3 separate regions of the Homo sapiens genome follow, and regions 1 and 3 are each linked to region 2. Evidence: promoter capture Hi-C in 16 types of primary human blood cells and fetal thymus (Javierre and others, 2016). All regions are on one chromosome and are shown on one strand. The core of a region is centred on a gene start or on the middle of the fragment in contact, and the rest is flanking DNA. Distances in the headings are between cores, read along the strand shown.

Region 1 (3,493 bases), core at 263-2,762, 420 kb before region 2:
AGAGCGCGCACTGTAGCTGAAGAGACAGGTGATGATAGGTAGATAACTCTACGGAAGCAGACAAGGAAAAAGATAGTCCTGCACTGGAGCCCGAGGAAAGCTCCCTGGGTAAGAACTGAGCTTACCAAGTGACTTCTAGGTGACAGGAAAGTGTTTCACAAGTAGAGACAGGGAACATTGGCAGAGGGAGCAAGAACATTGTCATCAAGTGCTTGGAGTCATGTGGGTGAGGAGGTGGAGAAGATGGAGATGATGCTGGAGAAATGGGTTGAGGTTGGGATGATGAAATGCCTTGATGGCCAGGCTAAGGCATTTGGGTTGGGTTCTGCAGGTAATGAGAGGCCATAGCAACAGTTACAGGGGTGCACTGAACAGGGCTCCAGTCAATGATGGATGAATAAATGGCTTGATATGTGACTGCATGAAATAAACATGCTGATGCATTCAACTAGGGGACATTGACGCCAGGAGACCAGTAAGGACACAGGGCACCCATCCAGGCAAGAGATGAGTAATGAGGCTTGGACCAGGTGCTGACAGCAGATGGGAGAAGAGGCCCAAATATTCTTAAATGACCCAGGTAAGAAAGTCAAGACTTGGTCAAAAATGCCATAGGAAGTCGCCCTTTACTTGGCAAAGGCTGACATGCCATGCCACTGTGCATGGTCCCAGGAAAAGAAAAGAAAAGTGCTCCTGAGTCCAGAATCTCCAGGAGCCCTGAGGAAAGATGATGTTGAACTCTGGGATTTACAAAGCATTCCTTTTCATGGGCAGGTCATGCCACTTCTGAGCAAGCTCCTTGTTTTAAATTTTCTTATTTTTTTCAATGGAGAGGCCACTTAGTTGGGAAGAAATACAAAACATCTGTGTGTTAGGGTGCTCCAGAGGAACAGAATCAGTAGGATATATAAGACATATATAAGAGGAGGTTTATTATGGAAATTGACTCGTGTGATTATGGAGGCTGTGAAGTCCCATGATATGTCATTGGCAAGCTGGAGAACCAGGAAAGCTGGTGGTGAGATTCAGTCTGGATACGAGGGCCGGAGAACCAGGAGCTCCGACGTCCCAGCTCAAGAAAAGAGAGAATTGGCCCTTCCTCCACCTTTTTGTTTGATCCAAGGCCTCAAGTGATTGGAAGGATGCCCGGCCACACTGGAGAGGAAGCTCTTCTTTACTCAGTCTACTGATTCAAAGACTAATCTCTTCCAGAAACACCCTCACAGACACACCCAGAAATAATGTTTTACCAGTTATCTGGGCATCCCTTAATCCAGTCACATTGTCACAAAAAATTAACTATCACAATATGTCAACACGAAGCAGTGAGGAGGACCCAGGGAAATCGGGGTCCCCATCCACTGCTGGCGGGTGTCCTGAGACACACACTATAGGGACACACTTATACTTGTGCATCTGAAGGCAGACATGCACCAGGATGCTTTGATCAATGTTATTCATAATGATAAAAAAATGGAAGCAATTTATCTGTCTACCTATAGGTAGATACATAAATAGAATGCAATATAATCATATGATGGAACATGATACAGTAATTGGAACAGACTGAGGGATCCACAGGGCTGGACATCAAAACACATAGTTGTACAGAACAGGCAAATTGAAGAGTAATATATTCAGTATGATAGCACCTACATAAATTATGAAAACATAAACCTGTGTTGCATATTGTATCTGGGTCCAGATATAGGAGTCACAGTATAAAACAAACACTGGAATTTATATTGTAAATTCATAAGAGGTTGAGAGGCAGGGATGAAGGGGAGAAGAGGAGATTCAAAAGAGATTTCTACCTTGGTGATGGTTTGTTTATTTTATTTTATTCTTTTTTTGAGACCGAGTCTCACTCTGTTGCTCAGGCTGGAGTGCAGTACCGTGATCTCGGCTCACTTCAACCTCTGCCTTCCCGGTTCAAGCAATTCTCCTGCCTCAGCCTCCCATGTAGCTGGGAGTACAGGTGTACAGGTGTGCACCACCACGCCCAGCTATGTTTTTTTTTTTTTTTTTTTTTTTTTGTATTTTTAGCAGAGTCGGGGTTTCACCATGTTGGCCAGGCTGGTCTTGAATTCCTGACCTCAAGTAATCCGCCCGCCTCAGCCTCCCAAAGTGCTGCGATTACAGGCGTGAGCCACCGTGCCTGACCCTGATGGTTTATTTCTATTATATAGGCAGATCTATAAAAGATCTGAAGCAAATATGCCACAATGTTACATTTGTGAATTCAGGATGGTGAGTAAAAAGTGTTTATTATATCATCTGCTGCACTTTATCTTCAAAAATTTCCCAAGTAGACAAAAGGAAAAAAGAAAAAAGGTAGGGTGGGTGGGAGCCAAACAGAAGGCTTGGAAACCATTTCTGTGCTCTTTGCACAGCAAAGGGAGCATGCAGATGGCGAGTTAACATACCTAGGAGGCTCCCCTGGGGTTTAATGTTGCATTGTGTACCCTCAGAACGACTGCTCAGCAAAGGCAAAATAAACACATTTCCTGTGCTTCCCTTTCTCAGCTCCGCAGCCCTGCCAAAGTGGGGGTGGGAGGGTCACATCATTTATTTACACAAGGTCCTCTTTATATGGACACCTCCAATAACGTTATTCATCGGGTTGGCTCCTCCAGGGCTGCCCCACTGTTCCCAGCAGGCCAGGAGTGTGACTTCACGGTGAAGCGTCACGTCCAAGTTACTCTGTACGTGGCAATGCCAGCTACCCACAAGAAAGGAGGGCTGTGAAGGGGGAGCTGGGGCCGCTTCTGGGTAATGGATTTCCCCCGCCCCCATTTCTGGCAAAGAGCTCTGTGGTCACAGAATTAAAAAAATCTATCAATTGTAAGCTAAGGCACATGCTGGGTGGAAGTGAGAGTGAGGGAACCTATTCTTATCACTAGCTCTGAGGTAAGATAGAAATGTCTGGAAGCTCCCCGCTTGCAGCTGGGAACTGTGCCTTAGTCATCTTTATGTTTCCATGGCTTTGCACAAAGTAGGTGCTCAGGAAATGCTTGTTCAATAAGCAAACCACAAGGACACATACACACACACACACACACACACACACACTCATTGTGTTGTGAATTGTGTTTTCATGAGTTTTCTTTCTCTTCACAGACAGTGTCATCTAATGGTTAAGGATGTTGATTCTGGAACCAAACTGCCTAATTCTAGGAACAGACACAAAACCTCTACCTCAGTGCCTTCAAACTATCAGGCCTTGGAGGGGGCTGAGCTGAGGCCCTCCCCACAATAGCTGGCACATAAGGAGCATTCGAGGAATGTTGGCAATTTCCAAATTTAGTCTCAGGGCAAGCCAGTTGGGAAGGCAACACCATGTCCATCTTACAGATGGGACAGCTGAGGCTCAAAGAAATCCTGTTGCTTGTGAAAGGCCACACGTGTTCCTGCCAAATGATGATGCCAGGATCTGAAGGCAGGGTGTCAAGCTTCGGAGAACCCCCCAGCATCCCCTGTGGCTCCATTTCTC
Region 2 (3,425 bases), core at 652-3,151:
TCAGCCTGGATGACAGAGCAAAACTGTTCCCAAAAAGAAAGAAAAGGCTCTCATGATCCCATGTGCCCCAACCCTTGCAGTTACCACCACCCCATTTCATTGCTCTCCTTCACACACACACACAAAGCTTTTCTGAAAGAGTTCTTTGTACCTTGAAGAAGAATAAAGTAGGGTAGGGAAGTCAGGAAAGATCTCAGAATGTGATGCTTGAGCAGAGCCCACAGTGCTATGAGGGAACAGGCCATGAGAGTACCTAGGGAAGAAATCTTTCTAAGCAGAGGAAAGAGGAGGTACTTGTGAAAGCTGATCATAAAATTGGGTCATTCTTGTCATTCCCAATTAAATCAGAGCCAAGGGGCTAGGGGGAAAAGCACTCAGGGTACAAAACATTGCTCCAAGAATGTAATTCTCTGCAAGCCTGACTGCTGAAACTGCCTGTTGTAACCTGAGACCAGCTTTATCTATAAATGCTAAGAGAACTTGCTGAAACTCTAGGACTAATTTTGCCCACTGCCATCACTCACCAGAGCTTGCTAGCTCCCCAAACCCTAACTAGTCCCAAAGAACTTTCTTGAAGAGCAATATGTAACAGCTCTCCTGTTTCTAAAACCTCTAACCTTCTCTTTGTTCTTCAGACATACTGAAGACCACCCTGTCTGCATATATGCCCCAAATTGCTATTCTTTCTTTCCAAATAAAAAATTTTAATTTAGAGACTTGTCTCACATTTTTATTCTGGCTTCAACATACTAAAGCCCTAAGCTAGGAGTCTGCTTGACTTATCCAAGAATCCACAAAGTAACCAGTATGTCTAAAGCCTAATGAGTGAGAAAAAAAGTGGTAGGAAGTGAGGTCAGAGGAATAGCCAGGGGTCACATCCATCATCAGGCCATAGTCAGGATTTTGGATTTCATTTTAAATGTGGTAAGATGCCAGAGTGTGAAGAGAAGAGAAGGAAATGATTGTTGTATGATAAAATAATTGCTCAGTTGTGTGGAAAATAGGCTAAGGAGGGCAGGGACTTAAAAGTGGAGATATGGCCGGGCTCGGTGGCTCATGTCTGTAATCCCAGCACTTCAGGAGGCTGAGGCGGGCGGATCACGAGGTCAGGAGATTGAGATGAGCCTGGCTAACACAGTGAAACCCCATCTCTACTAAAAATACAAAAAATTAACCGGGCGTGGTAGCAGGCGCCTGTAGTCCCAGCTACTGGGGAGGCTGAGGCAGGAGAATGGCGTGAACCCGGGAGGCGGAGTTTGCAGTGAGCCGAGATCCCACCACTGCACTCCAGCCCGGGCGACACAGTGAGACTCCATCTCAAAAAGAAAAAAAAAAAAAAAAAAAGTGGAGATATGGAGATATACAGACCTGCTAGGAAGTTACTGTCCTGGTCCAAGCTAGAGATGATAAAGGCTGATTAGTGAGGTTAAAAAATACATTTGAAGGTAAAGCTAATTGCACAGATATATGTTGTACAGTTGTACAGATGGATGGAATAAGAGATGTAAGAGAAAGAGAATCAATGATAACGCTAGATTTCTGGCTTTAGCAATGGGGTAAATAATAGCACTCTTCAATGAAAAGCAGGAACACCCAGAGAGGAGGAAGAAAGATGGGAGGTGGGGGAAAACAATAGTTTGGGACAAATCCATAGTATGGGTTAACAGATCTATTATTATCCAAATGGAGAGGTTGACTAAGCAGTTGGATATGTAAGTATGGAGTTCAAGGGAGAAGTCAAGGCTAGAAATAAACATTTGGTGTCAAACATAAAAGATATTTAATACCATGTGTATTAGTCACAGCTCTTCAGAGAAACAGAACCAATAGGATACATGTATATATAGAGAGATTTTTTTCTTTTCTTTTTTTTAAAGAATTGACTCACACAGTTGTGAGGGCTGATAAGTCTGAAAACTCCAAGGCTGGCTGATAGGCTGGAAATTCAAGCAGGCATTGATGTGGCAATCTTGAGACTAACGGTGGTCTGGGTGCAGAATTGCTTCCTCTTTGGGAAACCTCCATCTTTTCTCTAAGGTCTTCAACTAATTGGATGAAGCCCATCCACATTATGGAGGGTCACTAGCTTTACTCAAAGCCTACTGATTTCATTGTAAGTCACATCTAAAAAATACCTTCACAGCAACATCTATGCTTTTATCTGCCAAACAACTGGGCACCGTATGCTAGCCAAGTTGACACATAAAATTAACTGTCACTCCATGGGACTAGATGAAATTACCCAGGAGTTAATGTATTTAGAGAAATAAAGATGGCCCAGGACAGAGCCCTGGCACGCTCAAACTGCAAAAGGGGAAAAGAACCCAGCAATGGAGCCTAAGAAGGAGCTGGCAGGAGGTAGGAGGAAAACCAAGACTGTGTGGTGTCTCAGAAGCCAATGAAGAAGTGCTCCAAAAAGGAAGATCAACTATTTCAAGCACTGCCAAGAAATCCTATAAGGTAAGGGCTGAGTCATGGAGGTCACTTATGAAAATGGTGGTAGGTAAGAAATCCTAATTAGAAGAAGTTCAGCAAGAAACAGAAAATAAGGAAATGGAGGGAGTAAGTATAGGCAACTCTTAAAGGGGTTTTGCTATAAAAACAAAACAAAACAAAACAACAATAGGAAAGGAGCTAAAGAGGGATGTAGGATAGAGGAATTTTTTTTTTTTTTTTTTTTTGAGACAGAGTCTCACTCTGTCACCCAGGCTGGAGTGCAGAGGCACGATCTCAGCTCATTGCAACCTCTGCCTCCTGGGTTCAAGCAATTCTCCTGCCTCAGCCTCTCGAGTAGCTGGGACTACAGGTGCATGCCACCACACCCAGCTAATTTTTGTATTTTCAGTAGAGAGAGGGTTTCACCATGTTGGCCAGGCTGGTCTTCAACTCCTGACTTCGTGATCCACCCTCCTCGGCCTCCCAAAGTGCTGGGATTACAGGGGTGAGCCACCGTGCCTGGCCAGACTTTTTGGTTTTTTTGGTTTGTCTAAGAAGGAAATTATTACAGCATGTTTTTATGCTAAAGGAATAATCCAGTAGAGGGAACTTTGGCAATTTCCAAAGAAGGAGCAAAAAGAGATAATTGCAGAACCAAAGTCTGTTGAATATACCCTTATTATGCAGTGTAGACTTTGAAGTCAAATCCAGGTTCTATTACTAACTGCAAAGCCAAGTTACTAAGCCTCTCTGCTTCTTCATCTTCTTTCTACAAGGCCCTTTGTGGTCCTTCCACCCCTTCATCTCACCCAAACTTCTCCTCAATCCCCATGATTCAGTCATTAGCTTGCTTTCAGTCCCTGTAATTACTGTCCTCCCTCCCACCACAGGGCTTTGCTAACTTCCAAGCATTGAGCAAATCTAGTTTGAACAGGTTTTCCTTGGGAAAACCAACAGAGAAGTCAAATCCCCCTATGAAATGTTCTCAT
Region 3 (3,437 bases), core at 652-3,151, 490 kb before region 2:
AAACATATAAAAGCTGTTAATAAATAAAAAGATGCCCATATGTGTATTTTAGAAATCCAAAACACTTATTTCCTGGCTTCTTCACAATCCCTAAGTGTAAATAGATGTTTTAAAAATTAACCAAATCTGCCTAGTTTTCTAAAGACCCTCGAGGAAGCATGAGGGATAAGACATAGGTTAATGTAAAATATTAAGTAAGAAATGATAGTATTAAAAAGGGAAGTTGAGCAAACATGAAAGACAGAACTCAGGCTTATAAATGTGTCTAGGACGTAAAACCAAGGTGGGAAAGCAGACCTGATGCAAGTGCAGCTTGAGTAAAACTACCTGGAATCCTTGGGTTCTCAGAATTATCTTGGGGACTTATGGCGATGGGGGATGGAGAAGTTGGAAGGGCTCCATACCCTCTCAATCCTCTTCCCTCACCACCACCAATGACCAAAGCAGCACTGGGTATGCCTTTTTTTCAGATTGGACTTCTGCATAAGATTTCATTTGAACCAAGTGTTTGGAAAAGTTTACACAGATGCTATTGCATCAGCTCAAAAAGCTAGTCAATAAGGTGGGAGATGCACCTGCACAGCAACCTAAATCAATACCAAATCGCAGACACAGAGACTAGAATGCAGGAAAAATGGACAGATCTTGGGAGTCCTGGGAAGAACTCATTAAATAGAATAGGACAAGCAGATCCCAACAGTGTCTAAGGCTTCAAGGGATACACTAGGGCCAAGAAAATCATTAAAGATCCGTATTCTATCCTGAATGGCAATCTTGATTCAGTCACTGGGAGAGAATGACAGAAATCCACATTCAAAAAATTAAAGAATAACATTAATTTAAAAATTGAAGAGTAACATTCTAAGAAAGACAGTTTCTGGTCAATGTTTAGACATCAGAATTAAAGACAGCCTCTTTTAAGGATTTAAAAAGAAAGGAAGCATTGAGAGATGTAAGAAGAAAACAAATCTGGAGTTTACCCCTTAAACTATAGAGAACAGAAAAGGAAGGCTTCGGGGAAAACATACAAAACTAAGAGAAATGGAGTTGTCAGTATCCTTGCAGGGCTGGTCAGGTTGACCTTTCAAGGTCTGATTGGCCTTTTGCTTGACCTTTAACCTAGGCCAGGTTGACCTTTTATGAGCTAATATGAGATATGTCAGAGGTACTGAAATAATTTGTCAACCCCACATCCCACAGCTGCAAGAACTTCCATCAGGGGCAAGGCAGATTTGAATTACATGAAAACCCTTCTGAAAGAGAAATTGTCTAGGACATCCCCAGAGGGCACAGTTAACAAAGAAACATTAATAACTATAAAACAGACAATAAAATATGAGAAGCACAAGATAAAACTAGATTCCTGAAAAGAGCTGATTACTGGGGTTAAGTCACATATACCTGGTCTCCATGGCATTCACGGCAGGGTCTCAGTAATTATTTTTAAATGAATACATCAATGTGCCAGATACTGTGCTAGATACTGAGAATATGGCAGTTACAACACAGACATGGTTTCACAACACAGACATGGAATTTAGAGTCCAGTAGATTGGGAGTGCAGAATGAAGGGAAATCAAGATGCTAAAATTTACTACAGTGGCAATGCAAATAAAAAGAGAAAGCAGGCCATAGCAGCCCTTAAAAATAGACTTAGGAAGTAGTAAAAAGCATAAATATATCAACTTATATTTAAGCCAAAAAGATAAAATCCTCTGGATAAAGAAGAACCAGGCCAGGAGTGGTGGCTCACGCCTGTAATCCCAGCACTTTGGGAGGCCAAGATGGGTGGATCATTTGAGCTCAGGAGTTCAAGACCAGACTGGGCAACATGGTAAAATGCCATCTCTACCAAAAATTAAGAAATTAGCCAGGTGTGGTGGCACATGCCTGTAGTCCCAGCTACTCTGGAGGATTGCCTGAGCTAGGGAGGCTGAAGCCGCAGTGAGCCATGATTGTCCCAGTCTAGGCAATAGAGCAAGACTCTGTCTCAAAAAAAAAAAAAAAAAAAAAAAAGAAGAAGAAGAAGAAGAGATGAGAAGAAGAGGAGGAGGCGGAGGAGGAAGAGGAACCAGTAACAGAATTAAGAACAAAATCTAACAATCTGTTGCTTAAAGAAGACTGAAAAATGAAAGTTACTTGTAAACTAAAAGAGGGGATTAAGCTATGTGAAAAACACAACAGATAATAGCGTACAATTCTACCAAATGTAATGAGGTCCTATAATATAAATACCATAATTCCACTTGCTATATCATCAAGATTGATGAACAGATAGTTTATATACAAGAAAAATCAGACATTTAATTATCTATTGAGAAAATGCACTCCTAGCACTATGAGAAAAAATAACAAATTGAACCATCTTCTAGGCACCATTACTCACGGGTTCAACTAATGAAAATAAATTAGAGTGATAAAGTCCAATGCTAGCAATCAGGAGAAATATGTATTCATACTCCTAGAGGCACTGTAAATGAGTCTTATCTTTCTGGAGACAATCAGGAAATACTGCAATGAGAACTATAAAGTTGTTCATATCCTTTGTTTTGGTAACTCTAAATCTTAAGAAAATATCCTCTAAAGGAAAAAAATCATTTTTAATAATAATGTTCTCATTGGCACTAGGTATAATGTTTTACATAGAAATAATTAGAAAAAGCATTATGAAACATAATATTTAAAACTAGAGAAATAACACTAAACTCTTAGTGTTAAGGGATTAACTAAATAACCATAAGATGTTGGCTTAACTATAGGTATTAAAACAGGCATTTTTCTGCATCCACCTATGACAGGATAAGACAGTCCAGAATTAACTTCCCACAATAAAATACTAGAAAAATGGACAAAATATAGACAATAACAATTTTCAGACACTGAACAACAGGCAGAAATGAACTATGATTCCTTAGAAAAGGGAACAAAGGAGGTAAGGTCCACATTGCCAAGACTTTCTGTCTGAGGTAATTACCAGACTGTGGTTCACAGAAGGAAATTCCATACAGTCTCTCTGAGTCGAGGAGTTAGACTGAAATTCTGAAATGCCTAGGTGGCTAGAATTAGGTGCAGAGCAGGGTACGCAAGTGAAGAGAGCTACACTAAGAAAGAGCATCAGAAATTTGGATAGAGGTCCTTTTGTGTCTTTGAATGAATGCCAGTAAGTGCATGCATAGAGTAAAATCCTACAAGGCCAGAAGAGAACAACTTACAAGGAAAGGACAATTGCTGAGGTGCTATATGAAAAATATTTCCCAGAGGTTACACAATGCCGGGAGTTATTTGAATTGCTTCTAGCAAGTGTAAAAGACCTCATTAAATATTCATGGAATTAAGTGGAACCCTCAGAAAGACCACACCTTACAAATGGGGTTAAATCAGCTCTAGAATAAAGGCTGCTCCAGACCCACTTTAACTGAGTTTAAAAACAAACCTGA

Evidence for each region. The method cuts DNA at HindIII sites, captures the fragments that hold promoters and counts their contacts. A CHiCAGO score of 5 or more calls a contact.
Region 1: a contact is called between a fragment that was not itself captured here and the fragment with the promoter of TXNRD1-AS1 in region 2, in 1 of 17 cell types (neutrophils). The highest score is 5.3, in neutrophils.
Region 3: a fragment that was not itself captured here is called in contact with the fragment with the promoter of TXNRD1-AS1 in region 2 in 1 of 17 cell types (neutrophils); the score reaches 5.7 in neutrophils.

The regions. Positions count from the first base shown.
Region 1 is chr12:104,695,026-104,698,518 of GRCh38, reverse strand. The region is part of intron 2 of CHST11 (carbohydrate sulfotransferase 11); the gene reads right to left. Among named protein-coding and RNA genes, the nearest start is that of MIR3922, 110 kb to the right of the region's middle. RefSeq lists an enhancer at 2,658-2,797. The HindIII fragment of the contact is 3,884 bases long and covers 1-3,454 here.
Region 2 is chr12:104,279,319-104,282,743 of GRCh38, reverse strand. It overlaps TXNRD1-AS1 (TXNRD1 antisense RNA 1), which reads left to right and starts at 1,901. Exons shown (of 2, transcript XR_007063431.1): 1 at 1,901-2,460. The region is part of intron 3 of TXNRD1 (thioredoxin reductase 1); the gene reads right to left. RefSeq lists a silencer at 379-673. The HindIII fragment of the contact is 3,745 bases long and covers 130-3,425 here.
Region 3 is chr12:104,773,743-104,777,179 of GRCh38, reverse strand. No RefSeq gene overlaps it. Among named protein-coding and RNA genes, the nearest start is that of SLC41A2, 180 kb to the left of the region's middle. The HindIII fragment of the contact is 9,463 bases long and covers 1-3,437 here.